Linked DNA regions of Homo sapiens: region 2 is linked to region 1. Evidence: promoter capture Hi-C in 16 types of primary human blood cells and fetal thymus (Javierre and others, 2016). All regions are on one chromosome and are shown on one strand. The core of a region is centred on a gene start or on the middle of the fragment in contact, and the rest is flanking DNA. Distances in the headings are between cores, read along the strand shown.

Evidence for each region. The method cuts DNA at HindIII sites, captures the fragments that hold promoters and counts their contacts. A CHiCAGO score of 5 or more calls a contact.
Region 2: a contact is called between a fragment that was not itself captured here and the fragment with the promoter of CERS5 in region 1, in 2 of 17 cell types (M1 macrophages and M2 macrophages). The highest score is 6.3, in M1 macrophages.

The regions. Positions count from the first base shown.
Region 1 is chr12:50,163,271-50,168,622 of GRCh38, reverse strand. It overlaps CERS5 (ceramide synthase 5), which reads left to right and starts at 1,254. Exons shown (of 10, transcript NM_147190.5): 1 at 1,254-1,522. The coding sequence starts at 1,326. LOC124902931 (a long non-coding RNA gene) reads right to left here. Exons shown (of 2, transcript XR_007063304.1): 2 at 3,000-3,597. RefSeq lists enhancers at 1-666, 718-877, 1,768-1,907 and silencers at 978-1,377, 1,478-1,627. The HindIII fragment of the contact is 9,101 bases long and covers 1-1,356 here.
Region 2 is chr12:50,330,246-50,335,178 of GRCh38, reverse strand. FAM186A (family with sequence similarity 186 member A) reads left to right here. Exons shown (of 8, transcript NM_001145475.3): 5 at 1,076-1,268; 6 at 3,358-3,509; 7 at 4,421-4,606. Among named protein-coding and RNA genes, the nearest start is that of LIMA1, 49 kb to the right of the region's middle. The HindIII fragment of the contact is 1,830 bases long and covers 1,328-3,157 here.

The DNA of each region.
Region 1 (5,352 bases), core at 5-2,504:
GGCTGGAGGGCAATGGCGTGGTCTCGGCTCACTGTGATCTCCGCCTCAAGCAATTCTCCTGCCTCAGCCTCCCGAGTAGCTAGGATTACAGGCATGCACCACCACACCCGGGTAATTTTTGTATTTTTAGTAGGGACGGGGTTTCACCATGGCCAGCCTGGTCTCGAACTCCTTACCTCAGGTGATTCTTCCGCCTTGGCCTTCCAACGTGCTGGGATTACAGGCGTGAGCCACCACACCCGGCCTGCCTTTACGTATACTTTTTGAGTGCTTCCCTTTTCACTTTGTTTTTCTTCCATTTCCTTTTCCCCAAGAGAAGAATAAAAGGATTTTTGTAAACTTTTTTTATTTTTATTTTGGGACGGAGTCTTTGGTCTGTCGCCCAGGCTGGAGTGCAATGGCGCGATTTCGGCTCACTGCGACCTCCGCCTCCCAGGTTCAAGCGATTCTCCTGTCCCAGCTTTCCGAGTAGCTGGGATTACAGGCACAGCGCCACCAGGCCCAGCTAATTTTTGTATTTTTAGTAGAGACGGGGTTTTGCCATGTTGGCCAGGCTGGTCTCGAACTCCTGACCTCAGGTGATCCGCCAGCCTCGGCCTCTGAAAGTGCTGGGATTACAGGCGTGAGCCACCGCGCCCGGCCTTTTGTAAACTGTTAAGTCCATTTTTTCTGAGGAAAAGTGACTAATTTTTAAGGGATAAAGCAGTGAAAGTAGGCTGAGGTCACGGGGCACGAAGGGAAGAAAAGGTTGGGAGCGAAAAGAACTCTAGTGGCGGACAGTAGTGGGCAGGACCAGCTGACATCCAAGAGAAGCCCTGACCTGAGAGATCGATCTGGCCTCCGGGAGTGGAGACAGAGGTACCGCCTGGGTGGGAGCCGGAACGGATTCGATTCCAACAGGCTGAGAAAGGAGAATGTCCCCGTAAAGGAGCTAGGCCTGAAATAAGGGGTGTGGCCGTAGCTGGATGGAAGAGTGAGGGAGGAGTAGAAGCGTGGCCTAGACCAGCAGCAAAAGAGGGCGGGCCCAGGGCCGCCCGAGGCGTGGTCCCAGGGCCGGGCTGGGCGAGTCAGAGGCTCGGGAAGGGGCGTGGATCCCCGGAGGCGGTCCCCGGGTTGCAGTGAGGGAAGTGGGCCGGGAGGAGAGATGGGCGGTGAAGAGGCCCGGCCCTGCCAGGGAGGCGGGCGGATCCGTGGCAGTGACCAGAAGGGGCCGGAAGGGGGTGGCCGCCGGCCGGGCCCCGCCCTGGGGCCGCCTCCCCGCGGGTTCCGTTGGCTGTGGCGGCAGCTGACGCTTGTGGCGGCGGTGGCTTCGGGGTGGGCGTAAGATGGCGACAGCAGCGCAGGGACCCCTAAGCTTGCTGTGGGGCTGGCTGTGGAGCGAGCGCTTCTGGCTACCCGAGAACGTGAGCTGGGCTGATCTGGAGGGGCCGGCCGACGGCTACGGTTACCCCCGCGGCCGGCACATCCTCTCGGTGTTCCCGCTGGCGGCGGGCATCTTCTTCGTGAGGCTGCTCTTCGAGCGGTGAGAGCCCGGGAGCGAGCGGCTCGGGGGCCGGGCGCGGGCCGGGGGCGCCCCGCTGTGGGAAGGGCCGAGGGCCGGAAGCAGAACTGCAAGGAAAGCCCGGAAGCAGGGGCTGGGGGAGCTTGGGCCGCGGCGGGTGATGCTAGGCGCGTGGGCGAGGTGGTAGCCTAGATGGAGAAGGAGTTTGGGGCGTGGGCAAGAGAAAGAGTGAGGGTCTAGGGGAATGCTGGGCCCCTTCAATGTTAGATCCGGAGTTGGATTGGGGGGGTCATATAGGCCTCCTCCCAACCTCCAAGGGTCCTACAGATGAGGAAACAGGTTCAGTGTGAGCTCTGGCAGAGGCCCCGAAGAGAGGGATAGGAAGGGGCCAGGAGAACCAGAGCTAGTTGTGACCATGGAAGCCGAGGGGTCAACGCAAGGGCCAGACGTTCCAAGGGAAAGGAATGGACTCATCAGACTCTTAAGATTTGTTAGGACGCTTGAGTTTCCGAGAATTGGGGGGAACAGGATTAGTTTGGCCCTAAGAGTTGGTTTGGTATGTCAACTCATGCACGTTTGTTGGTAGGAGGGTAGAAATCTGGTTGGGATAGGGTGTGGTGGAGCCCTAGGCTTCCAAAGTAATGGAAAGATGTCAGATTAGTTGCAGAACAGGCCTTGGGGCCTGAAATGGAAGGAGGAGTGTGTTCGAAGGGATGGAGGAGAGCCACAGGGCTTTATCAGAGGACAGCTATATTGAGCCAGATTCTTTTTTCTTTTCTTTTTTTTTTTTTTTTTTTTGAGACAGAGTTTCGCTCTTGTTGCCCAGGCTGGCGTGCAATGGCACGATCTCGGCTTACCGCGACCTCCGCCTCCCCTGTTGAAGCGATTCTCCTGCCTCAGCCTCCCGAGTAGCTGGAATTACAGGCACGCGCCACCACGCCCGGCTACTTTTTGTATTTTTAGTAGAGACGGGGTTTCGCCATGTTGGCCAGGCTGGTCTGTAACTCCTGACCTCAAGTGATCCGCCCGCCTCTGCCTCCCAAAGTGCTGGGATTACAGGCGTGAGCCACCGCACCCGGCCTTGAGCCAGCTTCTAAATGAGTTTAGCAGAATTGCAGTATACTTTGTTCAACCACATGATTTCACCTTTAAGTGAATGGATCATATGTTTGTCCAAGATAAAGATATTCACTGAGGCTTTGGTGTGTGATATTATAATGTGAATTTATACCTGTGGGTGATTTTGATCAAGTCTACTCAGACTCCAAGAAAGGAGACATGTTTCTGCCATAGGCCTCAGGTAATGAGGGTGGTTCTTGGACATCTGTTCGTTTTGCCTTTATCCAAGCATAAATGATTGTAATGCAGGAATGCCCTTTCTAGGATGGGAATATGTTGCAGGTGAAATAATCTGTTAATTTCTGAAAGATAGCATCTGTTTGGGATTGCTTCTTTGATTTGCCTACTGTTTTTGACTCAAGTCTTTCAAAATCTTGTGTTCTATTTAGCTAGTCACGCATCCATTTATTCGTAGTATTTGTGCATCATCATCATCAAAATGCTCTGCCAGACGTTCAAGTGCAAAAATAAAGATGCTTAAGTGAAGCAAATGAAACCCAAAGATCTAAATGGCTTTCCTTGGCCCTCAGGAACTTAGTGTAGCAAGGTTTTTTTTTTTTTCTTTTTCTTTTTCTTTTTTTTTTGAGACGGAGTCTCGCTCTGTCGCCCAGGCTGGAGTGCAGTGGCGCGATCTCAGCTCACTGCAAGCTCCGCCTCTCGGGTTCACGCCATTCTCCTGCTTCAGTCTCCCGAGTAGCTGAAACTACAGGCGCCCGCCACCATGTCCGGCTAATTTTTTGTATTTTTAGTAGAGACGGGGATTCACCGTCTTAGCCAGGAAGGTCTCGATCTCCTGACCTCGTAATACGCCTGCCTCGGCCTCCCAAAGTGCTGGGATTACAAGCGTGAACCGCCGCGCCCGGCCTTGTTTTGTCTTTTTACGTGTAATCGTTGTAGTTAGTCATCCTGGAGTGGAGGCACAAACTGCTTGTCTGTCTTTGGAATAAACTAGATCCAGGTACTCTCTTCCATAGTCTCTGTATATGAGGGCCAAAAAAAAAAAGGAGGAAGGCAATGTAATCACTACAAAGGAAAATACACAAGTCAGGACAAATTTTTTTTTAAAAGGTGATTTTCATAGAAAAACATCTCTGCTTTTCATATAAATATGTGCCAATATGGAAATTTCCCCATGTTAGTGGTAAGAGGAAATAGTTTTGTTGCTTATAAACACCCATTTTATATAAACTTACGTATCTCTTGAGATTCCAAAGTGTTCCCTCAGATGGCTGAAGACATATATCCCCTGGCAGAGCTGCTGGAAGGGATCCTTTACCTGTGGGAATTCTATCTGAGTGTTTCTATGGTGCTCCAGTGTCAGAGGAGTACAGGTGGATGGGAATACTGAGCTGAAAGCATTCTAGTATGATAATTCTTGGCTAGTAAAGACAGGCACCTTGTTTGTCTCATGTTTGCTCTTAGGAAAGTTTAACCCTAGAAGCACTCTTGCTATTTTGTTTCTTTTAAGACCCATTACCTCAGTAATATAATTCACTGCTGACTTGCCAATTCCTCTTTTACCGTTCTGGTCTTCCATAAAGAAAATAGACCACTCCACTCTTATTGTTGTTTTTGAGACAGGGTCTCAGCCTCACCCAGGCTGGACTGCAGTGGCACGAAGCTCACTCCAGCCTCGACCTCTTTGGCTCAAGCAATCCTCCTACCTCAGCCTCCCAAGTAGCCAGGACCATAGGTGCACACCACTATGCCCAGCTAATTAAAAAAAAAAAAAAAAATTGGGAGAGCGGGGCATGGTGGCTCACACCTGTAATCCCAGCACTTTGGGAGGCCGAGGCAGGGAGATCACTTGAGGCCAGGAGTTCGAGACCAGCCTGGCCAACATGGTGAAACCCCATCTCTACTAAAAATATAAAAATTAGCTGGGCATAGTGGTACATGCCTGTAATCCCAGCTACTCAGGAGGCTGAGGCATGAGAATTGCTTGAGTTGGAGAGGCAGAGGTTGCAGTGAGCCAAGATCACACTGTTGCACTCCAGCCTGGGCTGCAGAGGAAAACTCTGTCTCAAAAAAAAAAAAAAAAATTGTAGAGGCTGGGCATGGTGGCTCATGCCTGTAATCCCAGCACTTTGGGAGGCCGAGGAGGGCAGATCACTTGAGCCTAGGAGTTTGAGACCAGCCTTGGCAACATGGTGAAACCTTGTCTCTACAAAAAAATTTAAAAATTAGCTGGGTGTGATGGTGCATGCCTATAGTCTCTAGTCTCATCTACTTGGGAGGCTGAGGCAGGAGGATTGCTTGAACCCGGGAGGTTGAGACTGCAGTGAGCCGTGATCAAACCACTGTACTTCAGCCTGGGTGATAGAGTGAGACCCTGTCTCAGAAAAATAAATAAAATAAATTTTTGTAGAGGCCTGAGCTCCTGGCCTCAAGCGATCCTGCTGCCTCAGCTTCCCAAAGTTTTGGGATTACTGGCATGAGCCACTGCCCCTGGCCTAGAGCCACTTGTAGAATGCAATAGAAGGCATATCAAAAATATCGGGGCATGGCCTTGCATGCTGGCTCACACCTGTAATCCCAGCACTTTGGGAGGCCGAGGCAGGCAGATCACTTGAGGTCAGGAGTTTGAGACCAGCCTGGCTAACAACATGAAATCTCATCTCTACTAAAAATACAAAAATAGCCCCGCGTAGTGGCGGGCGCCTGTAATCCCAGCTACTTGGGAGGCTGAGGCAGGAGAATGGCTTGAACCTGGAAGGTGGAGGTTGCAGTGA
Region 2 (4,933 bases), core at 993-3,492, 170 kb before region 1:
CTCAAGCAAGCCTCTCACCTCAGCCTCCTGAGTGGCTGTGTCTACAGGTATGTGCCACCATGCCCAGCTATTTTTATTTTGCAGAGACGGAGTCTTACTATATTGCCCAAGCTGGTCACAGACTCCTGGCCTCAAGCGATCCTCCCACCTCAGCCTCCCAAAGTGCTGGGATTACAGGCATGAGCCACTTCACCTGGCATAATTTTTAAAATATATTAAAATAATTGTAAGCAACACTATTTTAACACTGGAAATTTTGTGAAGACTTAATGAAAATTTTGATAATCATATAGATTTTTGAAGGTTCATTCATAGGAACTGGATTAAAGTCTTATTAAGCAAGCTTCCCATCCTTCTCTACTTACTGGGGATGATGAGAGAATTGAAAGAAACTGAGGACAGGTTGGGCATAGTGGCTCACTCCTGTAATCCCAACATTTTGGGAGGCTGTGGCAGGAGGATCGCTTGAGGTCAAGAGTTCAAGACCAGCCTGGACAACATGGCAAAACCCCATCTCTACTAAAAATACAAAAATTAGCTGGGCGTGGTGGTGCACACCTGTATTCCCAGCTACTTGGGAGGCTGAGGCATGAGAATCGCTTGAACCCATGAGGCAGAGGTTGCAGTGAGTCAAGATCACACCACTGCACTCCAGCCTGGGCAACAGAGTGAGACTCTGTCTCAAAAAAATAAAATTAAATTAAAAAGAGGCCATGCTCAGTGGCTCAGGACTGTAATCCCAGCACTTTGGGAGGACAAGGAAAGTGGATCACGAGGTCAGGAGTTTGAGACCAGCCTGACCAACATGGAGAAACCCCGTCTCTACTAAAAATACAAAAATTAGCTGGGCATGGTGGTGCGCACCTGTAGTCCCAGCTACTCAGGAAGCTGAGGCAGGATAATTTCTTGAATCCAGGAGGTGGAGGTTGCAATAAGCCATGATTGCACCATTGCACCTCCAGCCTGGGCAACAAGATCGAAACTCCGTCTCAAAAAAAAAAAAGAAACTGAGGACAAGTTTGTTGAAGTAGGGTCTGCAACTATTATCGCTCTAATTTTTATTAATCTTTTCAAGGAACAACATAATGAAACGACTAAAAGCCATCCAAAATACTGGGAAAGGCTATGAGGCCAGGAACCTCCACATGATGCTGAGCAGACTTGATGACTACGGGAAAAAGGTGATGCAGGTCTGGACTGAGAAGCAGAAGTCTCTAGGGCAGAAACGGAATCAGTGCCTGAAGAAAATGATACACGTATTCAACCAGGTAACCTGCTTTCCACTCCCTCTGTCCAGCATGTTGTAAAAACATGAAAGTGGTAAGCTTTGTAAATGACATTTACCTGGAGACACCATGTCATATTACTTTCCTGGGCTGCTGTAACAAATTACCACAAACTTCATAGCTTAAAACAACAGAAATTTACTCTCTCACAGTTCTAGAGGCCAGAAGTTAGTGAAATCAGGGTGTCTGCCAGGTTGGTTCCTTCTAGAAGCTCTGAGAGGGCATTCTGTTGCATGCTTCTCTCCTAGATTGTGGTGGCTATGGGCAATCCTTAGCATTCCTCAGTTTGTAGCCACATAATTCCAATCTCCGCCTCCATCTTTCAAATGGCCTTTTTTTTTGTTTTGCTTTGTTTTTCGTTTTTTTGAGACAGTCTTGCTCTGTCTCCCAGGGAGTACAGTGGCACTATTTCGACTCGGTGCAAACTCCACCTCCTGGATTCAAGAGATTCTCCTGATTCAGCCTCCCGAGTAGATGGGATTACAGGCGCCCACCACCATGCCCAGCTAAATTTTATATTTTTAGTAGAGATGGGGTTTCACCATGTTGGCCAGGCTGGTTTCGAATTCCTGACCTCAGGTGATCCACCCGCCTCAACCTCCCAAAGTGTTGGGATTACAGGCGTGAGCCACCACGCCTGGCCTGAGTTCTTATAGTAAATATTACAAGCTGTGGTTCTAGAAACATTTTATATCTGTATATCCTTGTCTTTCCTTAAAATCGATTAATTTATAAGATTAGTTTACTTGCTACTTTGGAAGGTACAGAGAGGCTTCTCATCAGAGCCTAATCCAAGTCAAACATATATTGTAAATTTTCAGAACTGTTATATTTTATTTTATTATTTATTTATTTATTTATTTTTGAGATGAGGTCTCACTGTGTCACCCAGGCTGGAGTGCAGTGGCGTGATCTCGGCTCACTGCAACCTCCGCCTCCTGGGTTCAAGTGATTCTCCTGCCTCACCCTCCCGAGTAGTTGGGATTACAGGTGCCTGCCACCATGTCTGGTTAATTTTTGTATTTTTAGTAGAGATGGGGTTTCACCATGTTGGCCAGGCTGGTCTTGGACTCCTGACCTCAAGTGAACCGCCCATGGCAGCCTCCCAAAGTGCTGGGATAGAGGCTTGAGCCACCGTGCCCGGCCCAGAACAGTTATATTTTAAATATTACAGCTCTTTGTCAAAAAAATGAATATTCTCCTTTTTTTGATTTGGCAAATATGGCCAATGTACATAGAGTAAAGCAAGATGGGTTGGCAGCAACATGCGTTATCTAACAGGAATCACAATGCCTAGGGCATTTCAGAGGAGGAATAAGGGTCTGGGGCCAGGGAAGCCAGAATCCAGAGGATGAGGTATGGGTATCAAGGCTTGGAGAAAGGAGACAAAAAAAGCAAAAGGGATAAGAGGTTAGATATGAATGAATACTTTGCACTGAATCAGCATGGTGGTCAAGATGGCTAGCTCCGCTACCAGATTGTCTGGGTTCAAATCAGGCTAGCTACATACTAGCTAAGTGACTTTATGCAAGCCGCTTACATTTTCTGAGCCTCAGATTTTCCTGCTGTAAGACAAGGGTAATTATAAGACATACCGCATAAGGTTGTTATAAATACCAAATCAGCTAATATATGGAAAATGCTTAGTTCAGTGTCTGACATTCACTAAGTATTTAGTAAATGCTGGCTATCATTACAGTTGCATACTGCATCACAATTTATAAAGTGCTTCCATATATACTGTGTTTTACAATTCTCACAACCCTGTGTTATTATCCCTGTTTTAGAAATGAGGAGAAAGAAGTGCAGATAAATTAAGCAACTATCCCAAAGTCTCACAGCAAGAAAATAAGAGGACCAGGACTTAAGCTTAAGTAGGACAAAGGTTTTTATGTAGCAGAGCTGCCACCTCTAAAATGATGCATGTTGGAGGTGGGTGGAGTAGGGAGAGGATTTGCAAATCCATGGAAAAGGAGGAGTCACAGTTTAGTCTAGGGCCAGCTCTGAAGACCCTTCTAAAGATTCTGTCTCTTTTCATGGTTTCCTTTTTCTGATCTATTTTTTTTTATAGCTCAAAAAGATACATGAATTGAATCTTAGTCAACCTATCCCCTTAATCATCGAAGAAAAGCAGATACCTGCCTCTACCACATTTGTTCAAAAGCCATTCTTAAAATTACTAATGGAAGAGGACAGAACCTCTGACATATGCAAGAAATTTAGGTATGTGCTAGAAAGACTGATATTAAACTTTGGACGATATGTGGGACCTAATTTTTTTTTCCCTGCCCAAGAACTTCCCTTTCTCCACAATTATCAAATGGTGCAATGGAGAGTCTAAAGGAGTATTAGGCTGGGCGCGGTGGCTCATGCCTGTAATCCCAGCACTTTGGGAGGCCGAGGCAGGTGACTCATCTGAGGTCGGGAGTTCAAGACCAGCCTGACTAACATGGAGAAACCCCATCTCTACTAAAAAAAGTACAAAATTAGCCCGGCATAGTGGTGCATGCCTGTAATCCCAGCTAGTTGGGAGGCTGAGACAGGAGAATCGCTTGAACCTGGGTGGCAGAGGTTGCGGTGAGCCGAGATCGTGCCATTGCACTCCAGCCTGGGCAACAGCGAAACTCTGTCTCAAAAAAAAAGAGTATTAATTCCCTTAGCTAAATTGGCAAGAGGTTAATTTACATATATTTCTACTTAAATATTTAACATTGGATTGTGAGTTCCTCTAAAAATAAAGCTGATTCTTTCTTACTAAAAAACAAATTCTTTTAAGAATATTTAATAAAGAAACTTAGAAGCATTATCTTCTCTTTTTCTTCTATTTTTTTTTAAGGAGGCAGGAGCTTTGGGAAGGAAGGGGGCAAGTTATGTGGTCTCTCTACGCCATGAAGCTAAAATGGTAGTTTTAAAATGGATTACTAGGTGAAGCCATGCAAATGCAGCTTTGGTAACTCAGCGAATTCTGCTTTTTCATCCATCTCTCTGTCAAAGTGGGCATAGCTAATGCTGGTCAGTGCAAGGGGAAGGCATTATAGGACAAGGTGGCAGTGAAGAGGGGAGAATAAGATATATTTTGATGGGCTATGGAGCTCAGGAGAATTTGGCGTTCCCAATTTATGCTGATTCTGTAGGCAACAAGAGGACCAGACAGAGGCCATCTGGAATGTTGATCTGTCCACTTCAAGCTACCCAATAGCAGAGAAGACATCTATGCATTCACTCTGGGCCCAGCTGGGTGGGTACCCAGATATTCCCAGGCTGCTTCAGTTAGAAGTGCAGTCTACCTTCCGAAAATCTCTTGCATCCCTCCAATCACGGTAAGTTATGGACTGGAAGCACTCTGGTAATTGGGCCTTTGATCATATACCTTTTGGTTCCCTAACTTGACTTTCTCCTGTAGCACCAGGTACATCAACCAAAAGTAATGTTTGGTATGAGGTTAGACTCACACCAGTCATAAAATAGTACAGGTAAATTCAGCATTAGTCTGTTAGTGTTTCTAATCATAGGCCTATAGATGTCACCACTGAATAATGTAAAACAAACAAAAAACCAGTTATAATACCATGAATCTAATCTAACACTAGATAGGTCCACTTTTAATTCCATCCTTGGGGATTTGTTAATAGAAGTACCAGAAAGAC